4 separate regions of the Homo sapiens genome follow, and all the other regions are linked to region 3. Evidence: promoter capture Hi-C in 16 types of primary human blood cells and fetal thymus (Javierre and others, 2016). All regions are on one chromosome and are shown on one strand. The core of a region is centred on a gene start or on the middle of the fragment in contact, and the rest is flanking DNA. Distances in the headings are between cores, read along the strand shown.

Region 1 (2,700 bases), core at 199-2,698, 420 kb before region 3:
GAGTGCAATGGCACGATCTCGGCTCACTGCAACCTCTGCCTCACAGGTTCAAGCGATTCTCCTGTCTCAGCCTCCCGAGTAGCTGGGATTACAGGCATGTGCCACCACACCTGGTTATTTTCTTTCTGTTTTAATAAGCTGGTCTACAATACAGGTTTCCTGTGTTTTGTTTTTTTAGAGATGGGGTCTTGCTGTGTTGCCCAGGCTGGAGTGCAGTGGCTATTCACAGGTGCGATCGTAGCACACTGTGGCCTCAAACTCCTAGCCTCGGCGATCCTCCTGCCTCAGCCTTCTGAGGAGCTGGGACTACAGGCACATGCCAACATGCCCAGCTAATTACTACAAATTATTGAATCCTTTTTATGGGCCAGGAAGGCATGAGAAGATGGAGTGAGGGACCCTGGGCTCTGGCAAGATGGTATAGGAAGGGTTGTTGGCTTGGCTTGGGGGGTTGGACTGTAAGATTTGGAGAGTTAAATGTCTGAAAGAAGTAGAAAAATAAATAAAAAGCCCCTGCCTTCAGTTGCTTATTGAGCAACTCCCCATGCCAGATCCTACACTAACTAAGCTTAACTGTACACTGAGAAGCAGAGAGCCTTGCAGCCTAGGTAGCTGAATGCTGGATCCAAACTGTCTGCATCATATCCTGGCCCTGTTATTTACTAGTTGTGAGACCTTTGGCAAATTGCTTAACCCCTCTGGGCCTTAATCTCTTCATCTGGGCATATTAAATGGTCATATCATAAATGGGCATATTAATAGTACATATTGGCCAGGCATGGTGGCTCACACCTGTAATTCCAGCACTTTGGGAAGCCGAGGTGGGCGGATCACCTGAGGTCAGGAGTTCGAGACCAGCTTGGCCGACATGGTGAATCCCTGTCTCTACTAAAAATACAAGCCTGTAATCCCAGCTACTCGGGAGGCTGAGGCGTGAGAATCGCTTGAACCCAGGTGGCAGAGGTTGCAGTGAGCTGAGATCATGCCACTGCACTCCAGCCAGGGCAACAGAGTGAGACTATGTCTCAAAAAAAAAAAAAAAAAAAAAAAAGGGCTGAGTGGCTGAGTGCAGTGGCTCATGCCTGTAATCCCAGCGCTTTGGGAGAACGAGGCAGGCAGATCACCTGAGGTCAAGAGTTCAAGACCAGCCTGGCCAACACGGTGAAACCCCATCTCTACTAAAAATACAAAAATTAGCTGGGTGTGGTGGCAGGCACCTGTAATCCCAGCTACTCGGGAGGCTGAGGCAGGAGGATCGCTTGAACCTGGGAGGGGGAGGTTGCAGTGAACTGAGATTGCACCACTGCACTCCAGCCTGGGTGACGGAGCGAGACGTCATCTCAAAAAAAAAAAAAAGGTACATACTCCCGGTCGTGGTAGCTCACATGTGTAATCCCAGCACTTTGGGAGGCTGAGGTGAGAGGATTGCTTGGACTCAGGAGTTCAAGACCAGGTTGTGCAACATGGCGAATCCCCATGGCTACAAAAAATACAAAAATTAGCCAGGTGTGGTGGCACACACTTGTAATCCCAACTACTGGGGAGGCTGAGGTAAGAGGATCACCTGAGCCCAGGAGGTAGAAGCTACAGTGAGCCATGATTGCAACACTGCACTCCAGCTTGGGTGACAGAGTGAGAACCTGTCTCAAAAAAAAAGAAAAAAAGTGTGTACCTCTCAAAGTCATTGAGGGGATTAAATGAACTAATAGAGCAGTGGTATTTCTTCTTCTTTTTTTTTTTGAGATGGAGTCTGCCCTCCAGGCTGGAGTGCAGTGGCGCGATCTCGGCTCACTGCAACCTCTGCCTCCTGGGTTCAAGCGATTTTCCTGCCTCAGCCTCCTGAGTAGCTGGGACTACAGGCGCGGGCCACCACGCCCAGCTAATTTTTGTATATTTAGTAGAGACGGGTTTTCGCCATGTTGGCCAGGATGGTCTCGATCTTTTGACCTTGTGATCCACCTACCTCGGCCTCCTAAAGTGCTGGGATTACAGGCGTGAGCCGAATAGTGGCATTTCTTCTGTTCCCCAATGCCCTGTAACCGAGTTGTTTCCTTGCAATCAGTGTCATCTGCCTTGGCTGTGGTGTAGACCCTGAAAATTAAGGGATCATGGGAAAGCCTGGGGGCAGTGTGTTCCCAGAAGCAGTAGCAAGCGCAAAAGCCCCAAGGCAGGAGTGAGCTTAGTATATCTGAGGTACAGCAGGAAGTCCACCTGGAGCCAGGCAGCTGACTAAGACTCAGGAGCTCAGCTCAACGGCACGAGTGTTCATAACAGATGTGAAAATAACCCTGTACCTTTCAGAGAACAAAGGACTTTCCCCAAGCTTTGATCTCTGGAAAAACCCCAGACCATGATTACATTTGAGGCTCAGTGTCCACAGTTGCACAGGAATGAAGCTTAGAATTCAGGTCTTCTAGCTCTCTAGGGCCCATGCGTCAAGGTCAAGAAACTTACTTTCACTCAAATATTTATTAAACTCCTGGCCAGGCGCAGTGGCTCACACCTGTAATCCCAGCACTTTGGGAGGCCAAGGTTGGCTAATCACTTGAGGTCAGGAGTTGGAGGCCAGCCTGGCCAGCATGGCAAAACCCCATCTCTACTAAAAATACAAAAATTAGCCGGGCATGGTGGCGGGCGCCTGTAATCCCAGCTACTCAGGAGGCTGAGGCACAAGAATCGCTTGAACCTAGGAGGCAGAGG
Region 2 (2,700 bases), core at 101-2,600, 310 kb before region 3:
AGTGCTGGGATTACAGGTGTGAGCCAACGCGCCCGGCTCTGGCTATTTTTTTTTTAAGTGCATTATGAAAATATTTTATAACTTGTGTGTTTAGATCATGTGCCTTAAATATGATTATTGGTATGTTTTGCTTTAGGTCTACTATTATTTGTTTTTTATTTCCACTTTTCTGTGTTTTGTTCCTTGTTTTCCCTTTTCCTTCTTTCTTTTGGATTATTCAAATACTATTTTAGTACTCCATTTTAATTTATTTATTGTGATTTTCACTATATATCTTTGCAAGTTTTAAGTGATTGCTCTACGGATTATGGTAAACACACTTAAACATTCTATAGTCTACCTAGATTGAATATTTTGCAACTTCAAGTGGAATATGGAAAACTTCCACCATATTGGTCCCTTCATTGTCTCCCATGTATGCGTTAGCTTTCACATGCATTATAAAGACATGTATTGAAAATACATCCGTCCAGGGCTGTGGCTCACGCCTGTAATCCCAGCACTTTGAGAGGCTGAGGTAGGTGGATCACCTAAGGTCAGGAGTTCAAGACCAGCCTGGCCAACATGGTGAGACCCCGTCTCTACTAAAAATACAAAAATTAGCTGGGCATGGTGGTGGGCGCCTGTAATCCCAGCTACTAGGGAGACTGAGGCAGGAGAATCGCTTGAACCCAGGAGGTGGAAGTTGCAGTGAGCCAAGATCACACCACTGCACTCCAGCCTGGGTGACAGAGTGAGACTCTATCTCCAAAAAAAAAAAAAAAAGAAAAAAAAAAAACGAAAAGAAAAACGCCAGGCACGGTGGCTCATGCCTGTAATCCCAGCACTTTGGGAGGTTGAGGAGGGCAGATCCCGAGGTCAGGAGATCGAGCCCATCCTGGCTAACAAGGTGAAACCCCGTCTCTACTAAAAATACAAAAATTTAGCTGGGCGTGGTGGCGGGTGCCTGTAGTCCCGGCTACTCGGGAGGCTGAGACAGGAGAATGGCGTGAACCCGGGAGGCGGAGCTGGCAGTGAGCCGAGACCACACCACTGCACTCCAGCTTGGGTGACAGAGTGAGACTCCATCTCAAAAAAAAAAAAAAAAAAAAAAACCCTCCCAAAGTGCTGGGATTACAGGCGTGAGCCACCATGCCCAGCAGTCATTCCTTTCAATGGCAAAAACCGCAATTATTTTTGCATCAACTACACACACAGACACACACACACACACATATCTCATGTCACCTGCAGATACAGTTTTATTTCTTCCTTTCCAATCTAAATGCCTTTTTTTCTTTTTTGAGACAGAGTCTCACTCTATTCCTCAGGCTGGAGTGCAGTGTTGGTGTGATCATAGCTCACTGCAGTCTCAAAGTCCTGGGCTCAAGTGATCTCCCTGCCTCAGCCCCCTGAGCAGGTAGGACTACAGGCATGTGCCACCATGCTTGGCTAATTTTTTAATATTTTTTGTAGAGATGGGGTCATGCTGTGTTGCCTAGGCTGGTCTTGACATCCTAGTCTCAAGTGATCCTCCTGCCTCCCAAAGTGTTAGGATTACAGACGTCAGCCACTGCGCCGGGCCCTGTTTGCGTTTTTTTCTTGCAGTGACTAGAACTTCCAGCACTATGTCAAATAGGAGTGTCAAGAGCAGACATCCTTTCCTTGTTGTTGATCTTATAGGGAAAGTATTCCATCCTTCATCATTAAATATGATATATATTTGGTGTGTTTAAATCTATTATTGTTATTACTATTATTATTATTATTATTATTTGAGACGGAGTTTTGCTCTTGTTGCCCAGGCTGGAGTGCAATGGCGCCATCTCGGCTCACTACAACCTCCGACTCCCGAGCTCTAAGCGATTCTCCTGCATCAGCCTCCCGAGTAGCTGGGATTACAGGTGACTGTCACCACGGCTGGCTAATTTTTATATTTTTAGTAGAGACGAGGTTTCACCATGTTGGCCGGGCTGGTCTCGAACTCCTGACCTCAATTGATTTACCTGCCTCAGCCTCCCAAAGTCCTGGGATTACAGGAGTGAGCCACCGCGCCTGGCCGTTATTAATATTTTTGATGTTTAAGTTGTACCACTCTGGGCCAGTGGGCGCTCCTTCAAGTTAGCTTCTATGTCGAAAATAAAAATGATTTGTTAAGAGAAAGGTAAGTGATTAACAAGTGACTCCAGCAGGTAAAAAGATTGAATTGCTACTAACGGTCGATGGGAGGCAGTGTTGTCCACCTAGTGCTTAAGAACACGGCTTTTGGTGGCAGATTTCCTGGTTCCCAATCCTGGCCCCTCAGTGAATTCGCTGTGAGACCTGCACTGTGTCTTTCCAGCTCCCTGTGCTTTATCCTCAGTCTGTAAGAATGCAGGCTATAGGGTTAGTGTGGAGACCAAAAGAATCAATACTCCGAAGCTGCTCATAACAGTGGCTTGTACTTGACTCCGAGAGTTGCTGCTTTCACCATCATAGTGAAGACAAAGTACTCAAAATCTGCTACACGAAAAAGATTACAGGCCCAGAAGATTTTGCAGGCATGTTCACTCCAACTTTTTTTTTTTTTTTTGGAGATGGAGTTTCGCTCTTGTCACCCAGGCTGCAGTGCAATGGCGTGATCTTGGCTTACTGCAACCTCCGCTTCCCGGGTTCAAGTGATTCTCCTGCCTCAGCCTCCCGAGCAGCTGGGATTACAGTTGTGTGCCACCATGCCCAGCT
Region 3 (2,700 bases), core at 133-2,632:
GGCAGGAGAATTGCTTGAACCCGGGAGGCGGAGGTTGCAGTGAGCCCAGATGATGCCACTGCACACCAGCCTGAACGACAGAGCGAGACCCTATCTCAGAAAAAAAAAAAAAAGCTTATGGGGGCTTCCTCTTTATTCCAAGGAAAAATCAGTGTCTGCATGGTTGCCCACAAGACTTAGGGACTGCCCACCCCTCAGCCTTATCCCCAAGTCCCACCATCTCCTCTTGTTCAGCCTGACCCTGGGCTATGCTGGCTTGTCCTCTCCTTAGGTCTTTGCTGCCTCCATCTCTCACCCTCCAAGACGAAGGTCAACTGTCACTTTCTCATGAAACACTTGCTTGACTGCCAGCCCCTTGACCATGCCTGTGGTCCCCCAACCCGTGGCATGTGCCTGCTGTCCCAGCTACTTGGGACGCTGAGGTGGGAGGATTGCTTGAGCACAGGAGGTTGAGGCTGCAGTGAACTATGACTGCACCACTGCACTCCAGCCTCAGCAACAGAGGAAGACCCTGTCTCTAAAAAACAAACCAAAAAAGTGACTCTACTGTGTGGCGAATGGGTCACGGTCACTCTACCACTGTCTGTTATGAGATTCACGAATAGAATGTACTAGACACAATTATTTATTCATGTTTTCATCAGTCTTTAACAAATTCCCTGACCAGGATGGAGAAATCTCCTCTCTCATCTACCTTGTTCATGGCCTCGTCCCCACTGTCTAGAATAAGACTCCACACGGCGTAGGGGTTCCGTAAATACCCATGGAATTAGGACCTTCCAGTCCCTGTCACTCGGTGCTTCATTGATTTCTGTTCTTTTTTGGAGATGGAGTCTTGCTCTGTTGCCAGGCTGGAGTGCAGTGGTGCAATCTCAGCTCACTGTGCAACCTCCACCTTGCGGGTTCAAGCAATTCTCCTGCCTCAGTCTCCCGAGTAGCTGGGATTACAGGCACCTGCCACCAAGCCTGGCTAACTTTTGTATTTTTAGTAGAGACGGGGTTTTACCATGTTGGCCAGGCTGGTCTCAAACTGACCTCAAGTGGGCTGCCTGCCTCAACCTCCCAAAGTGCTGGGATTACAGGCATGAGCCACCGTGCCTGTCCTGGTTCCTGTTCAGCTGCCAGTACTCCTGAGACGTCCTGAGCTCTGCTCAGTGCTCGGGTGTCTCCAGTGCCCTAGGCTGAGGCCTGGCTCTCCCATCCCTGCTGCCCTGCTAAGGACCCAGGCCACTGGGCTCTCACCTGTTGTGGGAAAACAGAGCCACTGGTCAGGCTGGCGAGGAGGAGGAGGAGCAGGAGGCAAGCGGCCCAGATCTGGGAGCTCAGTGCCATCGTGCCGTCTGTCTGGCTGTCCCACTGCTGGGTCTTGAGCTTGCTCTGGTGTCTGGGACCGAGTGACAGTCGCTTTTATGGGGCCTGCCAGGGGAGGCGGTGGTCTGAGCCCCCTCCCCTTTGCTCTGTCTCATTTCCAAGAAGGTGGTGGCGCCGAAAAGGCGGGAGAGATAAGCGGGAACAGAGCGACAGGGAACAGGGTTGTGTCACCCTCAGCCGGCAGAGGTGTGTTCAGGGGGTGGGGCAGACGGGGTCACAGACACACACTGCTCACCAGCCATCTGGGGAGCCCTTTCCCCATCACGATGTCATTCTGCTGATCGGGAAAAAAGTTCCCCCTTTTGCTTCAGCGGTTAAGCAGTTTGATGAGCAGAATCAAGGTTCCGCTCTCCTCCACTCACTTCCCCATCGCCTACATGCACACGGGGCATGGCCAGCAGCCGCCAGGCTCCTCAGGAGTGTCTGGCATGTTGGGGGAAGCATCCATTGCTTTAAGCTCTCACCACACGTGCATAGGTTCTGGCAGGGAACACTAGATAGCCCTGAGCAGGGCAAGCATCAGCGTGTGCCCGATCCGCACGTGGTGTTTTCCCAGTGTCAGACCCTTGAGATGTGGCTCTGGTAACTGGAAAATGTTTGAGCAAACTTTTGGCCATAAATGACAGCAGTAATATGGCCCAGCACAGTGGCTTATGCCTGTAATCCCAGCAATTTGGGAGGCCAAGGCAGGAGGGTCGCTTGAGCCCAGAAGTTCAAGACTAGCCTGGGCAACATAGGGAGACCCCATCTCTACAAAAAAAATTTTAAACAAATTTAGCCAGGCGTGGTGGCACACATCTGTAGTCCCAGCTACTTGGGAGGCTGAGGCAGATCGCTTAAGCCCAGGAGGCTGAGGTTGCAGTGAGCTATGATTGTGTGACTGCACTCCAGCCTGGGTGACAGAGTGAGACCCTGTCTATAAAACATAAAATAGCAGTAATAGTAATAGCTAACATCTACAGTCCGATGAGTACATTTTATACGATGGCACATATGTTGACTCACTTCTGCACCAACTCAGCCTGTGCTGCCTGTTCTCCCAGCAGCACTTACTGCCCCACCTTCAGCTCTGCTCTGTATTCAGGGGCTGCCTTCTCAGTCACCCAACCCCAGAGGCCTGGGCTCCCCAGACCCTGCTCCCTTTTAGGAACCTCCTCCCCGTCGGACACTCATTTCCTTCACTTTACAGAAAAGGCACTGAAGGCAGAGATCAGGGCATGGCCCAAGCTTGCTCAGCCAGAGGCAGAGCTGAGATTCTAGCCTGGACAGCCTGACTCCAGGGCTTTTGCTCTTACCCACCAGGTTTCCCCATCTCCCCTAAAACACAGC
Region 4 (2,700 bases), core at 36-2,535, 330 kb before region 3:
CAGAGTCAGCGGATGAGTGGGGCTTCTAGGGGGGAGGGCAATAGGTGTGATGCTGTGGTGGGGACAGGGCTAAATGGGAGTGGGGAAGACAGGAGGGGATAGCTTTAAGAAGCAGTTACCAGAGTAGGTTTCCCCGGATCTTCTTGACAGTCCTACAGTGCAGAGGCAGAAAGAGGAGTTACTATGGGCCTCACCTGTGCCCCCTCCCCTGCTCTAGCCCAGCTTACCTCTGACTGTGCACATGCTGCAAGATGTAGGCCCAGATGTCAGCCCCCTGGCCCAGACACAGCCTGTGGGGACAGTGTGTAAGCATATGCCTGGGGCAGCACACAGGGTGTGGGATCCTCATTCCTAGGGTGATGGTGGTAGGGAGTTTTTACTAGGGAGTTCTCACTTCTTGAGGAGGGAAGGCCCAAACTTTTTTTTGCCTTTTTTTTTTTTTTTTTTTTAAGAGACAGTCTCGCTCTGTCGCAGTGGTACGATCATAGCTCCTTGCAGCCTCAACCTCCTGGGCTCATGCGATCCTCCCACCTCAGCCTCCAGAGTAGCTAGGACTACAGGCAGGCACCACTACACCCGGCTAATTGGTAAAACATTTTTTTTGTAGGGACTGGATGTTTGCACTAAGTGTGGTGTTATTCTCATTCCCTGGGAAGGCGGGTGGTGGGGGAGCGCGGGAGAGGCGGGTGCTCCCTTTCTCCTGGGAGTGGGTTATCCCAGTCACATCCAGAGGTGGAGGTGGGGGATGTACTGCCAGGAAGTGCCATCTCATGACCAGACGTGGGGCATCACTCCTACAGCTTCAATCCCCGATGGGGTGGCCACGGCTAACTCCTGAGTGTCCTTCTTGGTTAGGTTAAGGGAGGGAGGGGAGGTGCTGCGGGGACAGCCTCACTCTGGAGATCCTATTTCCATAAGGAGCGAGGTCTTAGCTAACTCGTGGAGGATCCTCACCAGTGCTAGGGACCTCACTCTGGGGAGCCTCCCAGGGTAGGGAGCCCTCAGTAAGTCGGGTCACTCTCGATGGGGAATTGGGGGGAGTCGAGTCCTCAATGAGGGGTGGAGTTCTCACTCCCGGAGACTCAATCTCCAGGGTGGGGTGTCCTCACTCCAGGAGCGGTCCTCACCTGCGCAGCGTCGATTCCGGGGCCCGGGCCGCCACGGGCACCCCCATCTCTTCGACCGCCCAGCAACCCAGTTCCCGCGCTTCCTGCGCTAGCTCCATGACAGCGCCGCGGCGGCGACACCGCCTCCCTCAGCCTCTTCAAGTGTGGCGCCCGCCTCTGACGTCACGGGCGCGCCAACAGTGACGTCATCGGTTGCCGGGCAGACAGCGGGCTCGGGCGCTGCATAGTAATCTTAGCGCGGTCAGGCTGGGTCTTGCAGCGCTCACTCTTCCCAGGTAGGTCTCCTTGAGTGGAAATGAAAAGGGCGTGGAGAGACTGCAGCCCCGCCCGCCTTCCCTCGTTCTCCCGCTCACTACCAGCTAACCCGAAAGAGGCAAAACAGTCCTTGATGCTTCCATTTATTTTCTTTTTCTTCTTTTAACTAAACACTTTTATTTTAATAGAGATGGGATCTCACTTGTTGCCCAGGCTAGTCTCAGCTTCTGGGCTCTTGAACTCCTGGGCTCAAGCGATCCTCCCGCCTCGGCCTCCCAAAATGTTGGGATTACAGGCGTGAGCCACCACGCTCACCCCCTTTATTTTCTTGACAAAATGGGACTTGCGTCCTAGGAGGACTGGAACCAGGCAATGAGATCCTGGACTTACTGCTCTTTGATTTCAGAAACAGGTGTCTCATGTCTGAGTGGAGGGTAGGGGCAGAGAGCATGACCCTAACATTTCCCTGGCATGCGTTTTCCCATTCATTCGTGCTTACCATTCCATAAACTCAGGGAGCTGACCCTGTGCTGGGTGATGCTGGGGACACCATGGTGACCACAACAGCCCTGGTCCCTATTGTACGGAGCTCACAGTTGAGTGGGGAGACAGACGCACCACCAGGTAGGGGTGGTAAAAATAAGCAGCAGGGGTGGGTCAATTTGGGACACAGCAGGTGTGAGAGGTCTGCGCTAGACCAGCAGTCCCCAACCTTTTGAGCATCAGGGACTGGTTTCATGGAAGACAATTTTTCCACAGTCTGGGGGATGGAGGGTGGGAGCAGTGGATGGTTTCGGGATGAAACTGTTCCACTTCAGGTCGTGAGGCATTATATTCTCTGTCTCTCTCTCTCTTTTTTTTTTTCTTCCCTGTTTTTTTTTTTGAGGTGAAGTCTCCCTCTTTCACCCAGGCTGGAGTGCAGTGGCCCGATCTCGGCTCAGCGCAATCTTTGCCTCCGGGGTTCAAGCGATTCTACTGCCTCAGCCTCCTGAGTAGCTGGGATTACAGGCGCCCGCTACCATGCCCAGCTAATTTTTGTATTTTTAGTAGAGACGGGGTTTCACCATGTTGGCCAGGCTGGTCTTGAACTCCTGACCTTAAGTGATCAGCCCATCTCAGCCTCCCAAAGTGCTAGCATTACAGGTGTGAGCCACCATGCCCCGCCTAAGCATTAGATTCTCATAAGGAGTGCGCAATCTAGATCCTTCGTATGCACAGTTCACAATAGGGTTTGCGCTCCTGTAAGAATCTAATGCCGCTCCTGATCTGGCAGGAGGTGGAGCTCAGGCAGTGATGCTCACCCATACGCCACTCACCT

Evidence for each region. Contacts are between HindIII fragments. The CHiCAGO score rates a contact against its expected background, and 5 or more counts as called.
Region 1: a contact is called between a fragment that was not itself captured here and the fragment with the promoter of HAMP in region 3, in 1 of 17 cell types (neutrophils). The highest score is 5.0, in neutrophils.
Region 2: a contact is called between a fragment that was not itself captured here and the fragment with the promoter of HAMP in region 3, in 2 of 17 cell types (total B cells and naive CD8 T cells). The highest score is 5.5, in total B cells.
Region 4: the fragment with the promoter of HAUS5 here is called in contact with the fragment with the promoter of HAMP in region 3 in 2 of 17 cell types (M1 macrophages and naive B cells); the score reaches 6.9 in M1 macrophages.

The regions. Positions count from the first base shown.
Region 1 is chr19:35,696,611-35,699,310 of GRCh38, reverse strand. No RefSeq gene overlaps it. Among named protein-coding and RNA genes, the nearest start is that of ZBTB32, 6.6 kb to the left of the region's middle. The HindIII fragment of the contact is 1,755 bases long and covers 571-2,325 here.
Region 2 is chr19:35,591,966-35,594,665 of GRCh38, reverse strand. No RefSeq gene overlaps it. Among named protein-coding and RNA genes, the nearest start is that of LINC01766, 4.6 kb to the left of the region's middle. The HindIII fragment of the contact is 9,877 bases long and covers 1-2,700 here.
Region 3 is chr19:35,281,210-35,283,909 of GRCh38, reverse strand. It overlaps HAMP (hepcidin antimicrobial peptide), which reads right to left and starts at 1,382. Exons shown (of 3, transcript NM_021175.4): 1 at 1,243-1,382. The coding sequence starts at 1,332. RefSeq lists an enhancer at 1,011-1,520. The HindIII fragment of the contact is 2,484 bases long and covers 117-2,600 here.
Region 4 is chr19:35,611,320-35,614,019 of GRCh38, reverse strand. HAUS5 (HAUS augmin like complex subunit 5) reads right to left here and starts at 1,285. Exons shown (of 19, transcript NM_015302.2): 1 at 1,128-1,285; 2 at 228-290; 3 at 120-152. The coding sequence starts at 1,225. HAUS5-DT (HAUS5 divergent transcript) reads left to right here and starts at 1,356. Exons shown (of 2, transcript NR_186318.1): 1 at 1,356-1,402. RefSeq lists enhancers at 1,148-1,407, 996-1,551. The HindIII fragment of the contact is 7,658 bases long and covers 1-2,700 here.